2 separate regions of the Homo sapiens genome follow, and region 2 is linked to region 1. Evidence: promoter capture Hi-C in 16 types of primary human blood cells and fetal thymus (Javierre and others, 2016). All regions are on one chromosome and are shown on one strand. The core of a region is centred on a gene start or on the middle of the fragment in contact, and the rest is flanking DNA. Distances in the headings are between cores, read along the strand shown.

Region 1 (5,522 bases), core at 1,738-4,237:
CTATGGAGGCTGAGGTGGGAGAATTACCTAAGCTTGAAGAGGTGGAGGCTGCAGCAAGCCATGATTGCACCACTGTACTGCAGCCTGGGTGACAGAGGGAGACCCCGTCTCAAAAAAAAAAAAAAGAAAGAGAAAAGAAAAAGAAAACAAAGTGCAAGGCATGAGTTAAAGCAGCTGGGTTTTGTCAGTTGCTCGGCGTAAGTAGTTTGTTGGATGTGCGTTTTTAACTTATAAATTTGTACTGCCTTTGGTTTCCATTATTTTGCCCGTTGAAGATTAGGGTTTTGGAGGAGAGAAACGAGAGAGCCAGCCTCAGAAACAGATACATTCCTCAAGCCTGTGGAGCATCTAAGTTAGCTTTCTATTTATCACCACCACTTTCCAAGTAACCATAACACAAAATCTCGTGGGCCCAAGAGAGGACAGCCACAGAGCATTCCTGAGTCACTATTTATCTTGTTTGAGTGGTGATAAAAACCAGGTCATTCTCAATCATAGAAACACAGACCTGGGCGTAGTGAAACATATGTTATGTTCCATTTATATAATTCCTAGAGGCTGTGTTTTCCAAAGCAGAGGAGGGATGGCAAAGAACTTCTCTACCCAAGTAAGCATTATGGCCCAATTAATGTCTACAAACCTAAGGAGGCCGGGCGCGGTGGCTCACGCCTGTAATCCCAGCACTTTGGGAGGCCGAGGCAGGTGGATTACTAGGTCAGGAGACCAAGACCATCCTGGCTAACATGGTGAAACCCCATCTCTATTAAAAATACAAAAAAAAAAAATTAGCCAGGCGTGGTGGCAGGCGCCTGTAGTCCCAGCTACTCAGTAGGCTGAGGCAGGAGAATGGCATGAACCCGGGAGGTGGAGCTTGCAGTGAGCCGAGATCGTGCCACTGCACTCCAGCCTGGGCGACAGAGCGAGACTCCATCTCAAAAAAAAAAGAAAAAAGAAAAAAGAAAAAAAAACCTAAGGGAAAAAGGAATGTCTCCACATTGTTGTTTTTACCCCCAGTCTCTCTGTATGAAATTCTTGGCCGGGTGCGGTGGCTCACGCCTGTAATCCCAGCACTTTGGGAGGCCGAGGCAGGTGGATCACGAGGTCAGGAGTTCGAGACCAGCCTGGCCAATATGGTGAAACCCCGTCTCTACTAAAAATACAAAAATTAGCTGGGCGTGATGGCGCACGCCTGTAGTCCCAGCTGCTTGGGAGGCTGAGGCAGGAGAATCGCTTGAACCCGGGAGGCGGAGGTTGCAGTGAGCCAAGATCGTGGCACTGCACTCCAGCCTGGGCGACCGAGTGAGACTCTGTCTCAAACAAAAAAAAAAAAAAAGAAAGAAATTCTTAAAGACTGTCAAATGTCAGCATGCAGTTTGGCCCTAACCACAGCTCTTTTCTCTGCAAAGGAGAAAAAGGCAAAGCCCATAACATTGCTGGAAGAGCTGATGGACCATGGAAGCTGTTGTGGAGAAGCTTCACACAACTAAAGAAATAGCCCTTAATTTACAACCTGGGCTGACAGTTTGTTTCAGGCTGACTCAACCCACCCGAACAATCTGTCTCAGCACACCGAAGTGTCTCATGCCAAAAGATCCTAAGAGGGCTGGGCAACTTGGAAGGGATGAGACACAGGCCCAGATGGTGCACATCTGGCCAAAAATTAGAAAGAGAAAGAAATCAGCCTCTCAAATCCACAGACAGGTGTTCGGGGCTTCCCAGGAGACCTGCTTATGAAGGGCAACGGGGATGGCTATGGACTGGTGGTTAGTGAAGGAACAACAAAGGTTTCTGAGACTTGCGCAGGTCAGCGGGAACCAAACAGGTGGCAAGAGTGGGCTGCTGTCCACCTTCCCTTGACAATGGCGTCATTTCGAAGACCTTTAAATTATTTAGATTGTTGTAACCAAGACATCTTTAATAATGCACCAAACAGCAGGCACCAGGTTGAAATCAATTAGACTCCACCGATAAATTATAAGGGAGAAATTTACAGGAGAATGGCTCTGGGGTAGGGACTGCAGGTACACATGCCTGCCAGAGACAATTATATCAGGAACCAAATAGTTATTGCTTTGTCATTTAAGCAGCAGAAAAGATGGCCAGGTGCTCCTAAATTAGAGCAATAACAAATAACTAAAATGAGGAGGCCTGTTCTGGGCAGGAAGGCTTCTGGGTGGCCAAGAGAAAAGACAATGGAGGTAGGAACAAATGTCATTTGGGGGATATCTAGGATCCGGATGCACCCTGCACTGGGGGCACCTCGCGCTTCTTCCAGGAGTTTGGGGCCAGTGGGGTAACAGGTGGTATCACAGGGGTTTGTCTCCCAGAGGATGACAATCTCCTGGAGGTGACTTCAAAGTTTCCCTTTCTAGGCAGGACGCGGTGGCTCATGCCTGTAATCCCAGCACTTTGGGAGGCCGAGGATCTCCTGAGTTCAGGAGCCTCAGACCAGCCTGGCCAACATGGTGAAACCGTGTCTCTACCAAAAATACAAAAAAATTAACTGGGCGTGGTGGCGCGCGCCTGGAGTCCCAGCTACTCGGGAGGCTGAGGCAGGAGAATCGCTTGAACCCGGGAGGTGGAGGCTTCAGTGAGCCGGGATTGCGCCACTGCACACACACCAGGCTGGGCGACAGAGTATGACTCCGTCTCAAAAAAAAAAAAAAAAAGCAAAGTTTCCCTTTCTAGTACAGGAAAAGCCCTAGGGAGTCCTGGCTGGATCTCAGGCCCCCGAGGACGCAGCCACGCCGCGTGCCACGCGTCCATTGGGAGCACGAAGAGACACCCGCGTGGTCACCCCGCCAGGGCTGCCTAGGCGCCGCGTCCCGCCCTAGGCCGCGCGGGGGCGCAAAGCGCAGGCGCACTCCCGCCGGGCGCGGACGGCTCCGGGCCGCCAGGGGCCGCTGTGGCGCAGCCGGGCTGGCCCGCGCTGTCCCTGACGCGGATCACTGGCCCCTCTTGAGCACGGCCTTGCCGGTTTGGCGGGGTGAAAGGTTGCGAAGATGGCGACGGCCTTGAGCGAGGAGGAGCTGGACAATGAAGACTATTACTCGTTGCTGAACGTGCGCAGGGAGGTGAGGCCAGCGGCTGGACGCTCTGGGGGCTGAGGCCGAGCCCGGTCGTTCGGGAGGGCCGGGCTGGCGGTGGCCGCCCCACCCCCGCCACGGGAGGCTCGGGTCCGTCGGGGAGGCCGCGTGACCCCGGCGACGTGCACGCCAGCCGCCCGATGGAGGCGTCCCCACCGCCCAGACCCTCCCGCCGGGGGTTCCGGGGCCAGCCTCCGCCCCAGCTCCTGAAGGCCAGTGCGCCGCGTGCACTGTGTCCGGGTAGGGCCAGAGGCCCCCGCACGCTCAAGAGGAAACGGGGGCCCCGAGGAGGCCACCGTAGTGGGGTTAGCAGTCCTCCGAGACCCCGTCTCGCGCTCAGCCCACATACTCGTCCTGGCTGAGGGGCTGTGTCATCGCCCGCCGCCAGCAGGATGGCGAACTGAGTCTCACCCACCAAGGTCAAGGCCACTAGGGAACGTCCTTAGGGCTTTTTCCGGTTCCCGAGTCTTTCGTGGGGACGCTCTGCCTCTGAAGTGGGTCCAGCCTCAGAGGCATGCGTCTCATGCCCTCTTTCATTCCCCTGGACCCGATGTCCAGAAATTGCAGGCAGAGCCTCCGGGACACAGACCCTCGGCTCGGAGGCTGCAGATTAGGAAGAAGCCCTAGGCCAGAAAAGTGGTGCCCTAACAACAGCTTCAACATTCACACCAAGCACTTGTACCCTGTCTCCTCAACGAATAAAAGATAACATGAGAGAGTCTCACATAGCCTGGCAGTAGTAGGGCCCCACTACACTCCTTTGTTCTTGACTAGTCTGGAGTTGAGATAGGTGTGAAGGGCGAGAAGGCTTCCAGGGTCAGGTCATGAGGTGGATCAGTTTCTTTAAGCCGATGGGTCCAGACTTTTCAGCCCTGCCAGAGAATTCCTAATTCCATCTCTCAGGTTTTCCAGTGGTAATGAAAGCTAGCCAAGTTTGGCTATGCTAACCAAAGCGGGTTCAGTGTGTGTTGTCAGTAAATATTAGTCTATGTGATGTTAATAATACAAACTTATCTTGTGTGGGACCACTATGCTGAATGAACTTTGTACTGTTATCTCATTTAATTCTGAGGATAGCTCTTAAGGTAAGTATTATGATAGCCCTTGATTTACACTTGAGGAAACCAAGGCATAGAGAGATTAAGTAGTGTGTCTAAAGTCACACTACTAGAAAGTGCAAGAGCCTGAACTCAACCCAGGCAGTCTGACTCTGGAGCCCAGCTTGTGAGCTCCATGCTAGTCTGTCACCTTACCTTACCAGTCCTTGGACTACAAAGCTGCTAGTTCTGGTACTGTATCCTTGAGTGTCACGCGCGTCCGTGTGAAGAGACCACCAAACAGGCTTTGTGTGAGCAATAAACCTTTTTAATCACCTGGGTGCGTATGGGCTGAGTCCGAAAAGAGAGTCAGCAAAGGGTGGTGGGATTATCATTAGTTCTTATAGGTTTGGGATAGGCGGTGGAGTTAGGAGCAATTTTTTGTGGGCAGGGGGTGGATCTCACAAAGTACATTCTCAAGAGTGGGGAGAATATTACAAAGTACCTTCTTAAGGGCGGAATATCACAAAGTACATTATCACAAGGGCGGGGAGCGTGTATTGTCATAAGGCCAATTGACCAGTTAGGGTGGGGCAGGAGTAAATCACCATGGTGGAATATCTTCAGTTAAGGCAGGACCTGGCTATTTTCACTTCTTTTGTGGATCTTCAGTTGCTTCAGGCCATCTGGATGTATATGTGCAGGTCATAGGGGATATGATGGCTTAGCTTGGGCTCAGAGGCTTGATACTGAGCACCTCATGAAAGAATCCCTCGAATGTATGGGCCACTGTACTATGAGAATGTCCAGTGAAATATCTTTGGGAATTGCAGATTTTGTTAGGCTGCCATAGGGCACCTGGGGGTTCTTGTTCTCATTAATCAACACTTCGGGCTAATCACTCCTTTTTTTCCTTTTTTTTTTAAATTATACTTTAAGTTCCAGGATACATGTGCAGAACGTGCAGGTTTGTTACATAGGTAAACATGAGCCATGGTGGTTTGCTGCACCCATCAACCCATCATCTAGGTTTTAATGGGCTAATCACTTATTTAGCCTTAAGTCTCTTTCCCTTTAAATGAAGATGTCTGGCTAGTTATACTTTTTTTCCAGTTTTTAGAAGTCAAGCAATAAATGAAGCCAGCCTTTCTGAAATCATTCGTACTTAGTCTGGGTTGTCAGTAATTGAGCAGCCATTTATCAGGCGTACTGAACCGTAGGCAGCTGCTGCAGATGATCAAGCAGGTCTAGAGTAATAGTTTTAGCCAGAGTCCTAGGTGAAGATTTTGTCAAAGGTATACCTTGAAACTGCTGAAACTGTAGAGCCTGTCATTGTTTTTGGACTTACGGATGGGAGCCAAAGAAATTTTGTTTGTTTGTTTAGAGACAGGGTCTCACT
Region 2 (5,522 bases), core at 918-3,417, 100 kb before region 1:
TCTCCAAACTACTATTCTTTCACAGTATTCCACCTGTCTTCTATAATTTTGTTTCCTCCTTCTACCATGAAAAATCAAGAACAACAAGAGATCAGAGGCAGGAGGGATATACTAAGGAAAAGGTGAAGGACTGTGCACACAGGCAGCCACATACACTTAAAGAGAGGCTGTTTTCTGTTTTCTTCCCCGCTTGTTTTCTGCTTTCTACCCATTCTGAAGGCAACGTCTCCCATTCTTACTAAGGATACACATCTCCATCCTTTTATGTTTACCGACCCAAAACAAGGGGAAAAGTGGGGAAGCCCACCCAAATAGCTGAACTGTGGAAGACCTCAAATGATACTGACATCACCCAAACTGCCTGATTCCACCTGAGAACACCCACAGGGCAAAGACCGCACAGACCATAGCATTCCAAGGTGTTCTGCTTCTCCACTATTCAAAGAAAAAGTTCTGGGGCCGGGCACGGTGGCTCACGCCTGTAATCCCAGCCCTTTGAGAGACTGAGGCAGGTGGATTGCTTGAGCTGGCCAAGAGTTCAAGACCAGCCTAGGCAACATAATGAAACCCCTGTCTCTACTAAAAACATAAAAATCAGCCGGGCGTTGTGGCATATGCCTGTGTTTTCCAGCTAAGTCCTCAGCTTGGGGGGCTGAGGTGGGAGGATCACTTGAGCCCAGGCTGTCGAGGCTTCAGTGAGCTGAAATTGTGCTACTGCACTCCAGCCTGGGCGACAGAATAAGACCTTGTCTCAAAAAAAAAAAAGAGAGAGAGAGAGACAAAGAAAAAGCTTTGAGACAGTTACTACACCTACCACTAACTTACTCCACACACACCCAGGCTGGCTGACCAAGGACACTTGGCCTTCTATCTGTAGCTACACTGAACACTTTCTCTGCAAAACTCTATAGCATCTGAACATAAGACACTCCTTTAGGAGTCAATATCTTTTCTTTTACACTGTTTGATGGGGACAGAGTTTGAGGTGCCAGGACCCCCTGCTATGATAACCAGCTTCTCACACAATCTCCTCTCACTCTAAGACCCTCTAAATGATCAGCAGGCTGCTGGATCTAACCAACCTTCTTTCATAGTCGACCAGAGTGAGATGATCACCTGGCCTATGGAAACAAAGCAAATGGCTGAGAGGAGTCAGTCCAATACCCAGTCTTGAATATTTTTGTACTGAGCCATAGAAATGGGAGTCAGATGATGATGAGTACTGGAACTAGAGTCAGGACATGCAGGAGCCATGACTAAGGCCACTACATGTAACTCAAGCAAGGAAGCTACATGTGAATGGAAAAAGCCCAGCTCCAGAGAAGACATGTACTCCAGACTCTCCAGATCCAGTTCCCACTGCCCAGCTGCACTTCAGTTTCTGTCCCGAGAGGCTACGATTGCTTCTGCTCTTCTTAGACTAAAACTGCTTTCACTTGGCCTAAACTGTGTGGCTCATGGGACTTGCAATCAAAAGTGCTCTAATCTAAAGCACGGCCTGCTTACCTTCCCTGACATCAACCCCAAACCATCTGTTTCCTAGTGTTTATTAAGAACCTCAGACTTTTCTGAATGAGCTAGCCAATCCTCTTTACAAATATAAATATTGCAAATATTAAAATCTCACCTAAAAATCACTTTCTGTATAAATGAACCTCAGGGCCTGATTACCATCACTTTTTTTTTTTTTTAATGTGTGATTCTGACAGTTTATTTAAGGCACAGCCTCCCACCTTGGGGTCATGAAAATATTGGCCATATATTTACTGTTAGGACATTATAACTAGTTTTCTCATTAAGCTTCAAATCCATTTGAAGTTTTTATTTTTTTAATTGTGGCAAAATATGCATAACATAAAATTTACCACTTTAACCCTTTTTGAGCATACAATTTAGTGAAATTAGGGACATTCCTATTGTGTATCACCATTAGCCATAGCTTATTTTCAAAGCATTCTGAAAATCATGACTTTTTTATTTTTATTAAACAAGTGTTTATGTTCCCTCATCAAATGACAAGGGCCAGGAGCCTCATCAGTGGCAGGACTGTGGCAGGACAGTGACGAAGGTAGCAAAGAGCACCCACAACAACTTGGAGCAGCACCAGAGCAGCTAAATCCATCCTCAGTTCCTCCAGACATGGCCACAGAAGCTAAAGAGACTAAAAATACTTGGAGAGGACAGATAAAAAGCTGTCAAGGATATTTAGCCCAGTTAGAGAGGTCGCCACTATCACCATATTTGCATCAGAAAACACTCATACAAGCTGCAGTGGGAAATATTTAGAATAATTAGATTCAGTACAGAAAGCCTGATGTTCCTTCCCTCCCAGAATGCCTGGAAGAAATCTCTGGGCCTTGAATTTGGTCAAGTTATCTATGATCAATTTCTGGAGGACCCCTAGGAAGAAAGACAAGTACTTCAAAAATGTTAAGTGCCCACTCTCCACCCTTCTAACTTGTTATAGCTTTCTTTTTAGCACAACAGCCTCTATCAAGAAAACCAAATGAGGAAGAAACTTTCATCAAAGCTTTGTGAAAGCAAATGATTCAGCCAGAACATTTCATAATGGCTGAGATGGAAAGGATAAGGCAGGGAATGTTTACACGAACACCAGGAACTTCAACTTGCCTCTCAGTATCTTTAAAAATGAAAGAAACTTCCAAAAATAAATTATGTTCACGGCCTCTCCAAACGCGAGGCCTATAGGAGGCCCAGGGAGCAGGTTCAAGTGAAGATGTGATATGATCAATGACAGTGGGCCCACAGCAACTCCCCAATCCACACGAGTTTCTAAATAGGAAGAGTCTTCATTTACTGAATTACTGGGAATCGATAGATTTTAATAACAGTTATATTAATCAACTCCAGAAAGTACAACTAAATGAATATAAATACTACCTTAAACATAAAAAGTCTGAGGTTAGCAAATATTTTTCATCTGTAATCATATATTATTTAAGTCTATTTTCCAAAACTATGAACCCTCATCTATGTCTGAACAAAGACCTCAGATCTGTCATACAGAATAACTATGAACATTTTGGTGTTGTACATCTTTTTTAATAAATTTAAATTTTTTTACATTTTGTTTGTTTTGAGACAGGATCTCACTCTGTCATCCAGACTGGAGTGCAGTGGCGTGATCGTAGCTCACTGCAGCCTTGACCTCAAGGGCTCAAGTAATCCTCCAACCTCAGCCTCCCAGGTACCTGGGATCACAGGCGCACACCAACACATCTGGCTAATTTTTTCTATTTTTAGTAGAGACAAGGTCTCACTATGTTGCCCAGGCTGGTCTCGAACTCCAGGGCTAAAGCAATCCTCCCGTCTCGGCCTCCCAAAGTGCTTAGATTATAGGCACCGAGCCACAGCACCCGGCCTACGTTTTTTAAAGTAAATATAGTATATTAAACAGACAGACCTAAAAAATTAAGCCCTCTATGTACCTCAGAAAGGAGATATCTGAGTGTCTGTAGTTCAAATCCCCCCATACAGCTTGAGTCAACATATTATTCTTGTCCTGGAGCAAGGACCTCAAAAGGAAAAGATACAGTTATACAGAATAGCTGAATATCAGGAAAGCAAGCCCTGAAATGAAATTCCATATCTCCGACTTCATTTCCTTACACAATAGTCCCCCTCTTATCCATGGTTTCAGTTACAAGCGGTCAACTAAGGTCCAAAAATAGGTGAGTATGGTACAATAAGATAATCAGAGAGAGAGAGAGACCACATTCACACAACTTTTATTACAGTATATTGCTGCAACTGTTCTGTTTTATCATTAGTTATTGCTATTAATTATTAATAGTAATTATTATTAATGGGAAGGAACTTTCGAGGTCATCGCTAGGAAAACCCTTTACCCAACACATGAATCCCCTCAAAATGACTACCAACTATCTCATTACATAAGAGCTGAGGTCTGAGAAAAGCAAGATGAGGAAAAGCTGTGCTGGAATCAAGAGTGATAAATGCAGAAATACCATCTGGTAAAAGAAGGTATGGAGGCCATGGAGAGAAAGGCTTCTAGCTCCTGGTCCACCTAAGTGGCAGCAAAGACAGCACAGGATGCAGCTCTGCTGGGATCCTTGAGTCCTGCTCACCAGCATTCCCAGCTAGTGAAAGAGTACAAGCCAGGCACAGCGGCTCATGCCTGTAAGCCTGGCACTTTGGGAGGCTGAGACAGGATGACTGCTTGAGGCCAGGAGTACAAGACAAGCCTGCGCAACATAGCAAGACCCTTTCTCCATAAAATTAAAAAAGAATTAGCCGGGTGTGGTGGCACACGCCCGTAGTCCTCACTACTCAGGAGGCTGAGGCAGGAGGATCACTTGAACCCAAGAGTTCAAGGTTGCAGTGAGCTGTGATGGCACTCTAGCCTGGGTGACAGATCAAGACTCTTGTCTCTAAAAAATTTTTTTAATTAATAATAAGTAACGAATAAATAAATAATAAATAAATAGTAAAAAGGAAAGAGTTTGAGCTGGGAATCCAAGTGGGCTTGTTCTACAAGCTGTCTAGGAAGTGCAAAGCCTTCACAGCTAGAGAACTAACCAATCACTGATTGGTTCAGGGTTAGATAAAAATGATAACGCTTTAGCCAGGCGTGGAGGTGGAGGCTAACGTCTGTAATCCGAGCACTTTGGGAGGCAGAGGCGGACGGATCATGAGGTCAGGAGATAGAGACCATCCTGGCTAACAAGGTGAAACCCCGTCTCTACTAAAAATACAAAAAATTAGCCGGGCGCGGTGGCGGGCGCCTGTAGTCCCAGCTACTCGGGAGGCTGAGGCAGGAGAATGGCGTGAACCCGGGAAGCGGAGCTTGCAGTGAGCCGAGATTGCGCCACTGCAGTCCGCAGTCCGGCCTGGGCGACAGAGCGAGACTCCGTCTCAAAAAAAAAAAAAAAAAAAAAAATTAGCCAGGTGTGGTGGTGGGCGCCTGTGGTCCCAGCTACCCAAGAGGCTGAGGCAGGAGAATGGCGTGAACTCGAGAAGTGGAGCTTGCATCACTGCACTCTAGCCTGGGCGACAGAGATAGACTCTGTCTCAAAAGATAAATAAATAAATAATTCTGATGCTACCGCCAGTATTCCAGACTTTTTGAAACCTAATAATAATAGCCCATAACTTTTCATAAATTCTACAGTGGCACATGGCTTTGAAAATTAGGGGGTTTTTACAGAGCCCTCTACCATTAAATATTCCTTTTTTAGGCTGGGTGCGGTAGCTCACACCTGTAATCCCAGCACTTTGGGAGGCCGAGGTGGGTGAATCACCTGAGGTCAGGAGTTCAAGACCAGCCTGGCCAACATGGTGTCTCAACTAAAAATACAAAAATTAGCCCAGCGTGGTGTTCAGCACCTGTAATCCTAGCTACTTGGGGGGCGAGGCAGGAGAATCGCTTGAACCAAGGCGGCGGAGGTTGCAATGAACCAAGATCGCGCCATCGCACTGCAGCCTGGGGGACAAGAGCAAGACTTTGTCTCAAAAAAAAAAAAAAAAATTCCTTTCTTCAT

Evidence for each region. Contacts are between HindIII fragments. The CHiCAGO score rates a contact against its expected background, and 5 or more counts as called.
Region 2: a fragment that was not itself captured here is called in contact with the fragment with the promoter of DNAJC11 in region 1 in 1 of 17 cell types (monocytes); the score reaches 6.4 in monocytes.

The regions. Positions count from the first base shown.
Region 1 is chr1:6,699,281-6,704,802 of GRCh38, reverse strand. It overlaps DNAJC11 (DnaJ heat shock protein family (Hsp40) member C11), which reads left to right and starts at 2,987. Exons shown (of 16, transcript NM_018198.4): 1 at 2,987-3,074. The coding sequence starts at 3,003. RefSeq lists a silencer at 2,751-3,200. The HindIII fragment of the contact is 16,969 bases long and covers 1,476-5,522 here.
Region 2 is chr1:6,797,984-6,803,505 of GRCh38, reverse strand. All of the region lies in intron 1 of CAMTA1 (calmodulin binding transcription activator 1), which reads right to left. Among named protein-coding and RNA genes, the nearest start is that of CAMTA1, 15 kb to the right of the region's middle. The HindIII fragment of the contact is 730 bases long and covers 1,803-2,532 here.